Linked DNA regions of Homo sapiens: regions 1 and 3 are each linked to region 2. Evidence: promoter capture Hi-C in 16 types of primary human blood cells and fetal thymus (Javierre and others, 2016). All regions are on one chromosome and are shown on one strand. The core of a region is centred on a gene start or on the middle of the fragment in contact, and the rest is flanking DNA. Distances in the headings are between cores, read along the strand shown.

Region 1 (3,634 bases), core at 323-2,822, 71 kb after region 2:
TGACTGGCAGTTCAGTAGATTTATTTACATCAGCATCACCACAAACATGTGAGTAATGCTTTTCACTGGGACATCATGATGGCTGTGAGGTCACTAGGCAATACGATTTTTTAAATGCCATTGTAACCTTATAGGACCACTATCATGTAGGCAGTTTGCTGTTGACTGAAACATCGTTAGGCAGTGCATGACTGTATCACAAATTTAATGGCTTAATACTCTTGGGCTGGGCGCGGTGGCTCACACCTGTAATCCCAGCACTTTGGGAGGCCGAGGCGGGCAGATCACCAGGTCAGGAGATCGAGACCATGGTGAAACCCCGTCTCTACTAAAAATACAAAAAAAAATTAGCCAGGCGCGATGGCGGGCGCCTGTAGTCCCAGCTACTCAGGAGGCTGAGGCTGGAGAATGGCATGAACCCTGGAGGCGGAGCTTGCAGTGAGCCGAGATCGCCTCACTGTACTCCAGCCTGGATGACAGAGTGAGACTCCATCTCAAAAAACAAGAAACAATACTCTTGTATTATCTATCTCACAGTTATGTAGAGAGAACCATGAGCTTGACCAGGTATTCTCTTTAGAGTATTACAAGACTGGAATCAAGATGTTGACAGGTTTGTATTTCTTTCTGGAGGCTGTAAGGACGAATCTGCTTCCAGTCTGCTTCCAGTCTCGTTCAGACTGTTGGCAGAACTCAGTTTTAAGTGGTTGTGGGACTGAGGTTCCCATTTCCTCACTGGCTGTTGGCCAGGGTGTCATTCTTAGATTTTAGAAATAACTCATGTTTCTTGGCATATGGCCCCACATCTTTAGTGCCAGCAACGGTGCAAGTCCCTTTCATGCTTCAAATTTCTGTGACTGTTCCTTCTCTTTCGTTTCTTCTCTGCTTCCAGCAGGAGAAAGTACTCTATTTTTAAGGGCTTAATGTGATTAGATTGGGCCTACCTACATTATCAAAGATAATCTCCCCATCTCAAGGTCCCTTTTGCCATGAAATTTAATGTATTTACAAGTTCTGGAGATTAAAGCCAGCACATTTGTGGGGAGTCGTTATTCTTCCCACTACATTTTAAGGTTCCTTTGAAGTATTATCATGGTTCAGTTTTGAATGAGATTTTTATTTTTATTTTTACAGGTTTTTTATGTTAACTTTGGTGACCTTTTGTGTACTTTACATGAAACACCTTATATATTAAGTACTGGGGATTCGTTCTATGTTCCTTCAGGTAAGACAATTTATTTCACTTAGACAACATGTATATAGTTGTTTTTGGGCACTATGGAAATGGAAGCCACAGTGGTCAAAATGAAGTGTGATATGACTGATGGATGTCAGAACAGTTTGGTACATATTTTCCTTTCATTTGATCATTAGGTAAGTGTATTAGCATTTTGTGGTGGTTTTTTTTTGTTTTTGAGACAGAGTCTTGCTCTGTCACCCAGGCTGGAGTGCAGTGGCACGATCTCAGCTCACTGTAGCCTCCACCTCCTGGGTTCAAGCGATTCTTGTGCCTCAGACTCTCGAGTAGCTGGGACTACAGGCACGAACCACCACATCCGGCTACTTTTTGTATTTTTAGTAGAGGCGGGATTTTGCTATGTTAGCCGTAACAGATCACCTGACCTCAAGTGATCTGCCCACCTTGGCCTCCAAAGTGCTATGATTACAGGTGTGAGCCACAGTGCCCAACCAATTAGTGTTTTGATACATGAGAACAAGAGTTGTTTACTACTGAATATGAAAATATTGGCTGGGCATGGTGGCTCATGCCTGTAATACCAGCACTTTAGGAGGCCAAAGTGGGCAAATCACAAGGACAGGAGATCGAGACCATCCTGGCTAACACAGTGAAACCCCATCTCTACTAAAAATACAAAAAAATTAGCTGGGCGTGGTGGCGGACACCTGTGGTCCCAGCTACTCTGGAGGCTGAGGCAGGAGAATGGCATGAACCTGGGAGGTGGAGCTTGCAGTGACCAGAGACTGCACCACTGCACTCCAGCCTAGGGGACAGAGTGAGACTCGGTCTCAAAAAAAAAAATACATTTATGTATATAGTCAGCAGATATGTTGTATTACAGAGGAGAACAAAAATTATTTACCCCATGTTATCTCTAAGAAATTATGTTTTTAGAACATTATTTTAAACTGTTTCAAGAATGGTATGCTTCATCAGCTATCGAACAGCAGAAGTTATTGTAAATAGGCATTTTAATCCACTTGTCATTCATTCACTCATTCAACAAGTATGATTAAGAGACTACTATGGGCCAGGTGCAGTGGCTCACACCTGTAATCCCAACATTTTGAGAGGCTGAGGAGGGCTTGAGGTGAGGAGTTCGGGACCAGCCTGGGCAACCTAGGAAGACCCTGTGTCTACAAAAAATGCAAAAGTTAACCAGGCACGGTGATACACACCTATAGTCCTAGCTCTCGGGAGGCTGGGACAGGAGGACTGCATGAGCCCAGGAGTTCAAAGTTGCGGTGAGCTGTGATTGTACTACTGCACTCCAGCCTGGGTGACAGAGCAAGACTCTGTCTCAAAAACAAAAACAAAACAAAGTGTCTACTATGTCCATGTATTGCTGCAAGATTTGGGATATATAAATGAAAAAACAGGCAAAAATCCCTGCTTTTATAGAGCTTACATTCTGTTGGAAGGAGACAATAATAATAGCCATACTTGCATAATCCTTAGTATGTCAGCACTGTTGTGAATACTTTCTCAATTTCTAATATATAGAAAGTCACAGTGATAGTACTCAATTCTAATAAGCCTGTCACATGTGATACTTGCGGTCCATCTGTATTTCACTTTTGCTGTTATTTGTTACCTCATTTATTTAAGAGTAGCATTTGCCTTTTTAAAATTTTGAGATTTTGGCCGGGCGCGGTGGCTCATGCCTGTAATCCCAGCTCTCAGGGAGGCAAGAGGCGGGAGGATAGCTTGAGCCCAGGAGTTCGAGACCTGCCTGGGCAATATAGCGAGACCCCGTTCTCCAGAAAAAGAAAAAACAAAAACAAAAAATAAGTAAATAAATAAAATTTTGAGATTTTATTCTACTTAACATTGTACCTTTTATATTCATCTATATATGAGTATGTCTGGTTAGAGGAATCCACAGCAGTTCTGTAGACCTAATAAAGATTGGTTTCAGAAAGAGATTTTCTTTTCTTACACTCTCGACTGATTCATCTCCGTATTTATTTTCATAACGATGTGAAATTTATATTTCTGTTCTCTCAAGCCTCATCTGGATCACGTGTCATGGTTAGCTGTTGATGTAGTTCATGGAATTAAATAAGTTACTTTAGGTTAGGTGAATTGTTTTTATCTTGTGTCCTATACTACAACTGTCAGGTGATGACTACATACTTAATCAAAAAGAATGATTCATATGTAAATAATTTTTATTTTCTTATCACTTTACTTTTAGGTAACTATTATAACATCAAAAATCTCCGGAATGAGGAAAGTGTTCTTCTTTTTACTCAGATAAAAAGATGAAAGATCAACCAACCTTAAATATATGTATGTATATATGTATATGTGAAAAACAGTTTGTATAGTTGGAATATTTGTCTTTGTAATTACTTGTGATGTTTTAAAATAAAAATTTTATTCAGTTTTCTG
Region 2 (3,471 bases), core at 313-2,812:
AATTTTACATGTGGGACTTTACATCTATAATCGTGCTTGCTAAAATTTCTTACCCAGAGGCAAAGAGTGTAGTGATTAAGAGCTCAGTTGTGGAGTGAGAATTCTTGGGATAATAACCCATCCTACCATTTAGTGGTGATGTGATCTTGGGTAAGACACTTAGCTCTCTGTGTTTCAGTGCCCTTGTTTATAAAACAGGAATATTAATTGTTCTCTTCAATGCATGCAAAGCATTTCAGAACTGGGCATAGAGTATGCAGTCAATAAATGTTAGTGTTTATCATTATCTATTCCAAATGTGACAGCACCAAATTATAAGTTGGACTGATTGGCAAAACTGCCAAACATAGTAAAAAACTCTCCATAATGATTCCAATAGCTTTATTATTGAATTCTTACTATGTTCCAAACATTGTGCTTAGATCTTAACAGGAATTATTCAATTACAACATCTCAACCACTTTAATAGTATTCTCATTTTGCAGACAAGAGAATTAAGGAACAGATAACTTAGTTGCCCATAATGGCAGAATTAATGGAATGGAGTGCAATCCAGGCCTAATTTCAGTCAGAGATCATAGTTCCTTTTTTTCTATCAAAAAAATAAATAAAATAAAAAAATTGGCCTTCATAGTTGACAGCATTTGTTAAAGCACTACATGTTTTAAAAATCTATTAGCTCAACTCCTGATTAATGTATTTATTCAATTAGTAAACTATTTTCTGATTAGAATTTTCTTGTAATTTTAAATTAAATAATAAAATAAGATACAGCTTCATAGAATCATACACTGGTCAGGTGAGAAGTCTTCAGAGCGTCTAATTTAGACTTCCATTCTATCACTATGGAAACACCCAGAATGGTGCCGCAATTTTGCCCTCCATAACATAGCTAGTCAATGGCTGGCAGGTTTCAGGATTCTGTATAGAATTCTTTTCAGTGCATCATACTTAAATGATAGATATTTACGTGGGTCATTTGTTGGCAATGCATCATAAAAATATCGCCCACATACTTGAAAAAGAATACAAGCCATCATCACCATTATTATACATAATTATTCAATTATTTTCAGAGATGATGGTTAGATGGGCTGGGCGTGGCTGACGAATCTGCATTAGAAAAATCTCTTCAAAAAAAGATTCTATTAAAAAAAAAGTCGTCTGCAATTTCTACCTCTCATCCTTCCAAGTATTACTTATTATTCCTTAATAGAACTGTTGAGAAGTTTTACATTGGGCACAAGGAGCGGTTCCCAGGATCGTGCCTTCCTAATAAAAGCCCAGTCTCGCGCCTGTCCCGGGCGCGGCGCTGAGGAAGGGAGGTGGGAAGAGCAGAGCGGCTAGAGGTAGGGCGGGCGGGTGGGTCTGCAGGCTGGAGGGCCGTTGGCCTGGAGCATGAAGGGGCGAGCCCACTAACGGCTTGCTTCCTATTGGACGGCGCGGCCCGTTTTGCGCATGTGTCTCCGGGTTCAAACCCAGGCACAGGCCAAGCGTTCTTGTTTGTTGAGGGCGGAGCCAATGGCGGGGGAGTGTTGTTAGCGCGCGCCTTCCGGATCGCAGCTCTCGCGGCAGTCGCCTGAGACTTAAGGTTATTGCTTGGCCGCGGCCTGGTATTCCGGCGATTCGTTTCTTGCTCGGCTTCCTGGAGCTGTGGTCCGTGTGGGCTTCCACCTCAGACAGTTGCGCTGGCTCAGCGGGGCCGGAACATGGCTGCGTCCGGTCTGGTAAGTGCAGGCCCCCCGCTCCAGGCGAGTGGTTGAGCGGCTGGCTGGGGCACGGGCGCCCGAGGCTGGGGAGAAGGAAATGCTAGGCTGAGGCTGTGATCTCTGAGGGATTTCAGTGGGAAAGCCGCAGGAATTTTTGAAATCAAGTGTGATCGTGTGTCGATAACCAGAGTTAATTTACTGTACTTTTATTATTTCTTAAGTTTTCATGTCGTCATTTCGTCTGTGCCTACGTCTTACTCTTGAGAGGTGCTTGTGATTTCTGCTGGGTTTTTTTTTGTTTTTGTTTTTGAGACGGGGTCTTGCTCTGTCCCCCAGGCTGGAGTGCAGTGGCGCGATCTTGGCTTCTGCTTTTTAGTCTAGCTCCAGTTCCTAGGCCTCCAAATAACTTTTCTCCCCATGGTAGAAGTATTGAAACGCCTTAAAAGTGTGTCTTTGCGTCACACTTGGTAGTTGGGAGAAACAGATTATGTAACAAGTACGTCTCGAAATAATTTGACGTTTTCAGTTCTTCTGTCAAAATGGTGGCCTTTTATGCAGTTCTTGAGGCTGATTTATGGAGCATATGTTATTGACAAACTCTTCTGAAAGACAGCTATCAGTTAAAAGGTACAAGCTGTGAATGACTAATGGGGGCGACAACTCATTTTGTTTACATATTTCTGGACTTCTTTGGTGTTCACTATTCTATATTTCATACTTTGGTTATGGTTACTATATAAAAATCCGTATCATTTCTTTTCTAATTTATCTCCCCTTCTAAGAAAATCTTCAGCTTCGATGATCTCCCATTATGTGACGTTATACATATAAACATAAAGAGTTGTATGAAAGAATAATATAATCTATACTTTTTACTATGAGCACATATATTGTTTACATTATATATAATCAGAAGAAAGCAATAAAGCCATTCTCACTGTGGGGAGAGAAGCGGAATAAAGCTTACCAGATGCCTGCAGTTCAGTTTTTAAATGCCTGTCATAACCTATGTTATGTCATAACATAACCTCAAAATTGTTTTGAGCCCTTAGGAGATGTTTGGTGTATAGCATGCCCATACTGGATGAAGTTACTTTGAAAATAAATTTTACTCGACTCTATCTTAAAGAAACCAAATTGATGATTTACTTTTCTTTCAGGATCATCTCAAAAATGGCTACAGAAGAAGATTTTGTCGACCTTCCAGGTGATTTACGTACTTAAGCTTTTAAGATTATTTTTATTCTCATCGTTAATAGATTTTTAAATGAAGAAAGGAAAAACTATCACCTCTGACTAATATAATGATTTCTGTGCCCACTGATTAAGGGTAGTCATCTTATACTAACGGGAATGTTAATGCAAGCAGTGCAATGACTTTGTGGCTGTGAAAAAAGAAATTCACCTGATAAAATAGTGGAACCAGGAAGAGGGAGTCTCAGTTCTGACTAAGTGACTGCCATGGGAAAAGCATTTTGTAGAATGAATCAAATGGTAAAATTAGAAAGATGTAGCTTATTCAGTGGGGCAAAAAGAAAAATAGTACATGCTGTCGTGCATTTGTTGAGTGCTTGTTTGGGTTGTTTTGGTTCTTCTTTTAGTTGTAAAACCTGTAAAAAGTAAATTTTCTAGTTAAATATTTACTAGTAATAGGATGAAAAGCATGTTTTTAAAAGTGAAGATGTTATTATGAATAACGTCATGTTTATTGAGCTGTGATTTTAGTAGGTCCAATGGGGCACAGAAGTATGTTCTTTTGTTT
Region 3 (3,421 bases), core at 15-2,514, 91 kb before region 2:
GCCTCAGGAAGTTCTGTTTTTCTTGCTTTAACATTCCTGATCTCTAATCTACCTATCTACTCTTCATCTAGTTTAGCTTTTTTTCTTCATCCTTTCAGTTTCAGCCTAAATTTCTTTTTATTTATTTATTTATTTATTTATTTATTTATATTGATCATTCTTGGGTGTTTCTCGCATAGGGGGATTTGGCAGGGTCATAGGACAATAGTGGAGGGAAGGTCAGCAGATAAACAAGTGAACAAAGGTCTCTGGTTTTCCTAGGCAGAGGACCCTGTGGCCTACCGCAGTGTTTGTGTCCCTGGGTACTTGAGATTAGGGAGTGGTGATGACTCTTGACGAGCATGCTGCCTTCAGGCATCTGTTTAACAAAGCACATCTTGCACCGCCCTTAATCCATTTAACCCTGAGTGGACACAGCACACGTTTCAGAGAGCACCGGGTTGGGGCTAAGGTCATAGATTAGATCAACAGCATCCCAAGGCAGAAGAATTTTTCTTAGTACAGAACAAAATGGAGTCTCGTATGTCTACTTCTTTCTACACAGACACAGCAACAATCTGATTTCTCTATCTTTTCCCCACATTTCCCCCTTTTCTATTCTACAAAACCGCCATCGTCATCATGGCCCGTTCTCAATGAGCTGTTGGGTACACCTCCCAGACGGGGTGGCAGCCGGGCAGAGGGGCTCCTCACTTCCCAGAAGGGGTGGCTGGGCAGAGGCGCCCCCACCTCCCGGACGGGGCAGCTGGCCAGGTGGGGGCTGGCCCCCACCTCCCTCCCGGACGGGGCGGCTGGCCGGGCAGGGGCTGCCCTCCACCTCCCTCCAGGGCTGGGCGGCTGGCCAGACGGGTGCTGCCCCCCACCTCCCTCCCGGACGGGGCGGCTGGCCGGGTGGGGGCTGCCCCCCCACCTCCCGGACGGGGCGGCTGCCGGGCGGAGACGCTCCTCACTTCCCAGACGGGGTGGCTGCTGGGCGGAGGGGCTCCTCACTTCTCAGACGGGGCGGCAGGGCAGAGACGCTCCTCACCTCCCAGACAGGGTCGCGGCCGGGCAGAGGCGCTCCTCACATCCCAGATGGGGCGGTGGGGCAGAGGCGCTCCCCACATCTCAGACAATGGGCTGCTGGGCAGAGACACTCCTCACTTCCTAGACGGGATGGCGGCCGGGAAGAGGCGCTCCTCACTTCCCAGACTGGGCAGCCGGGCAGAGGGGCTCCTCACATCCCAGACGATGGGCGGCCAGGCAGAGACGCTCCTCACTTCCCAGACGGGGTGGCGGCCGGGCAGAGGCTGCAATCTCGGCACTTTGGGAGGCCAAGGCAGGCGGCTGGGGGGTGGAGGTTGTAGCTAGCCGAGATCACGCCACTGCACTCCAGCCTGGGCAACATTGAGCACTGAATGAAGGAGACTCTGTCTGCAATCCCAGCACTTCGGGAGGCCGAGGCTGGCAGATCACTCACTGTTAGGAGCTGGAGACCAGCCCGGCCAACACTGCAAAACCCCGTCTCCACCAAAAAAATATGAAAACCAGTCAGGCGTGGCGGTGCGCGCCTGCAATCGCAGGCACTAGGCAGGCTGAGGCAGGAGAATCAGGCAGGGAGGTTGCAGTGAGCTGAGATGGCAGCAGTACAGTCCAGCTTCGGCTCGGCATCAGAGGGAGACCATGGAAAGAGAGGGAGAGGGAGACCGTGGGGAGCGGGAGCAGGAGAGGGAGAGGGACCTAAATTTCTTTATCAAAACAGACTTTCTTTTCCCCCAAATTCTAAATTAAATCCTCCTATGGTGATTTTCATAACACTATGTACTTTTTCCTTCATGGCACTCATTTTTACTGATATGCATATTTATTTAATGTTTGTGTCCTCACTAAATCATTCATCCAGGGACCATTTACTTTCCGTCATTGTATCCTCAGTGCCCAACATATGATGTCATTTAGTAAATATTCCTTAAATAAGTAGATGAATGAATGACTATAAATGTGTTCACCTTACATCTTTATATGACTCCTCAATGTTAGGGTGTAGAGCAGATATATTAACAGGGGAGAATTTATCAGTTGAAAAATGTGAAAAGTATGTAATCTTGGGCCAAAGAGGGGAAGAAAATAAAACTTTAAAAAATAAAAATTTGTAGAATATAGGTATTGTAAGTGTTGAGAAAGAAGATTAATATTATTTGGGATAAAGAAAATATTGAGAAGAGATAGTGTGGTAGAACTTGTAGTTAGAAAATAACCAAAGAAGAAATATAAAGCAAGGGAAAAGGAGTAATATTGTTAGGAATTAACCTAGAGATAAAGGTTAAGAAAGCCCCAGATTTAGGGTACTACTAGATGTATATGTATATTGCAGAATAGGGGAACAGGAATGATCCACTGTTTGATAGTAGTATATCTGTTTTCCTAAAATACTGCATTCAAGAAGTGATCAGTATGTGAAATGGTCAATAGAAAGTTGTAGGTTGTCCTTTGGTTACATTGTTATTGCTCACTTTTTTGTTTTTTACTTGCTGTCTTTTCAAATAGTCGTTGCTTAGCAAATCTAAGGCCTCTTTTAGATTCTGGAACAATGGGCACTAAGGGACACACTGAAGTTATTGTACCGCATTTGACTGAGTCTTACAATAGTCATGTAAGTGAATCAATATTTTGAAATAGATGTCTTTTTTATATCTTGTAATTTTTGTCTTAATCAACAATTTGATTTAGCTTTCCTAATCCTTCTGATTTTGCTCTGCCAATGATGTTCATACATATGTGCATGTACATTTTTTAAAATATAATTGAACTTTTTTTTAATTATCAGAATTTTGTGTCTGGTGTTTCTGGAGCATTATTCTTCTGTTTACTATTTATTTCTCAGAGCTGCTTAGTTTTCTAATACCCTTTGAGTTTAAGATTGTTTGATAAGAACAAACTATTAGATTGAGACTAGAACTGTCAACAAAGACATAAAATTTTATTCACTTGCTGAGACAAAGTGAGTCATTTTAGATTAGGTAAACCAATAAACCTAGGCAAAATGTACTCTATAATAGAATGTGGATTTCTTCAATGGTACTTTATCCACAAAAAACGACTTAGGTATTTACCATTTATTTAATACATGCTTTCTGCAAGAAACCTCAAGCATTGAGGACATATTTCTGCTCCCAGATGTTTTTCTCCATGGAAAAACTCATGCTTTTCTGAGCACTATACTGGGTATTCCTGAATTACTTTTCAAAGCGGGGCAGTGTTATAAAACTTTAAATGTCACCTTGATTCATGAGGAAAAAAATGATTTATAGATGATGGTGTGTCATGAGTACTACATGGTGCTTTAAATGAGTACACAAATAATAAATAAGATTCATGTTTGGCATTACATAGCTATTAACAAATAGGTTAAATGTCAAAAGAATTAACTTCTCTTATTGCC

The links. Contacts are between HindIII fragments. The CHiCAGO score rates a contact against its expected background, and 5 or more counts as called.
Region 1: a contact is called between a fragment that was not itself captured here and the fragment with the promoter of CENPC in region 2, in 1 of 17 cell types (monocytes). The highest score is 5.1, in monocytes.
Region 3: a contact is called between a fragment that was not itself captured here and the fragment with the promoter of CENPC in region 2, in 13 of 17 cell types (total B cells, naive B cells, activated CD4 T cells and 10 more). The highest score is 16.6, in total B cells.

The regions. Positions count from the first base shown.
Region 1 is chr4:67,472,479-67,476,112 of GRCh38, reverse strand. CENPC (centromere protein C) reads left to right here. Exons shown (of 19, transcript NM_001812.4): 18 at 1,135-1,225; 19 at 3,438-3,634. The coding sequence ends at 3,508. Among named protein-coding and RNA genes, the nearest start is that of CENPC, 71 kb to the left of the region's middle. The HindIII fragment of the contact is 7,822 bases long and covers 1-3,634 here.
Region 2 is chr4:67,543,594-67,547,064 of GRCh38, reverse strand. CENPC (centromere protein C) reads left to right here and starts at 1,562. Exons shown (of 19, transcript NM_001812.4): 1 at 1,562-1,727; 2 at 2,870-2,916. The coding sequence starts at 1,710. RefSeq lists a silencer at 1,278-1,417 and enhancers at 1,240-1,790, 1,568-1,807. The HindIII fragment of the contact is 5,245 bases long and covers 1-2,673 here.
Region 3 is chr4:67,634,664-67,638,084 of GRCh38, reverse strand. UBA6 (ubiquitin like modifier activating enzyme 6) reads left to right here. Exons shown (of 33, transcript NM_018227.6): 20 at 2,527-2,632. It also overlaps the pseudogene LOC107986207. Among named protein-coding and RNA genes, the nearest start is that of UBA6, 65 kb to the left of the region's middle. The HindIII fragment of the contact is 7,169 bases long and covers 1-3,421 here.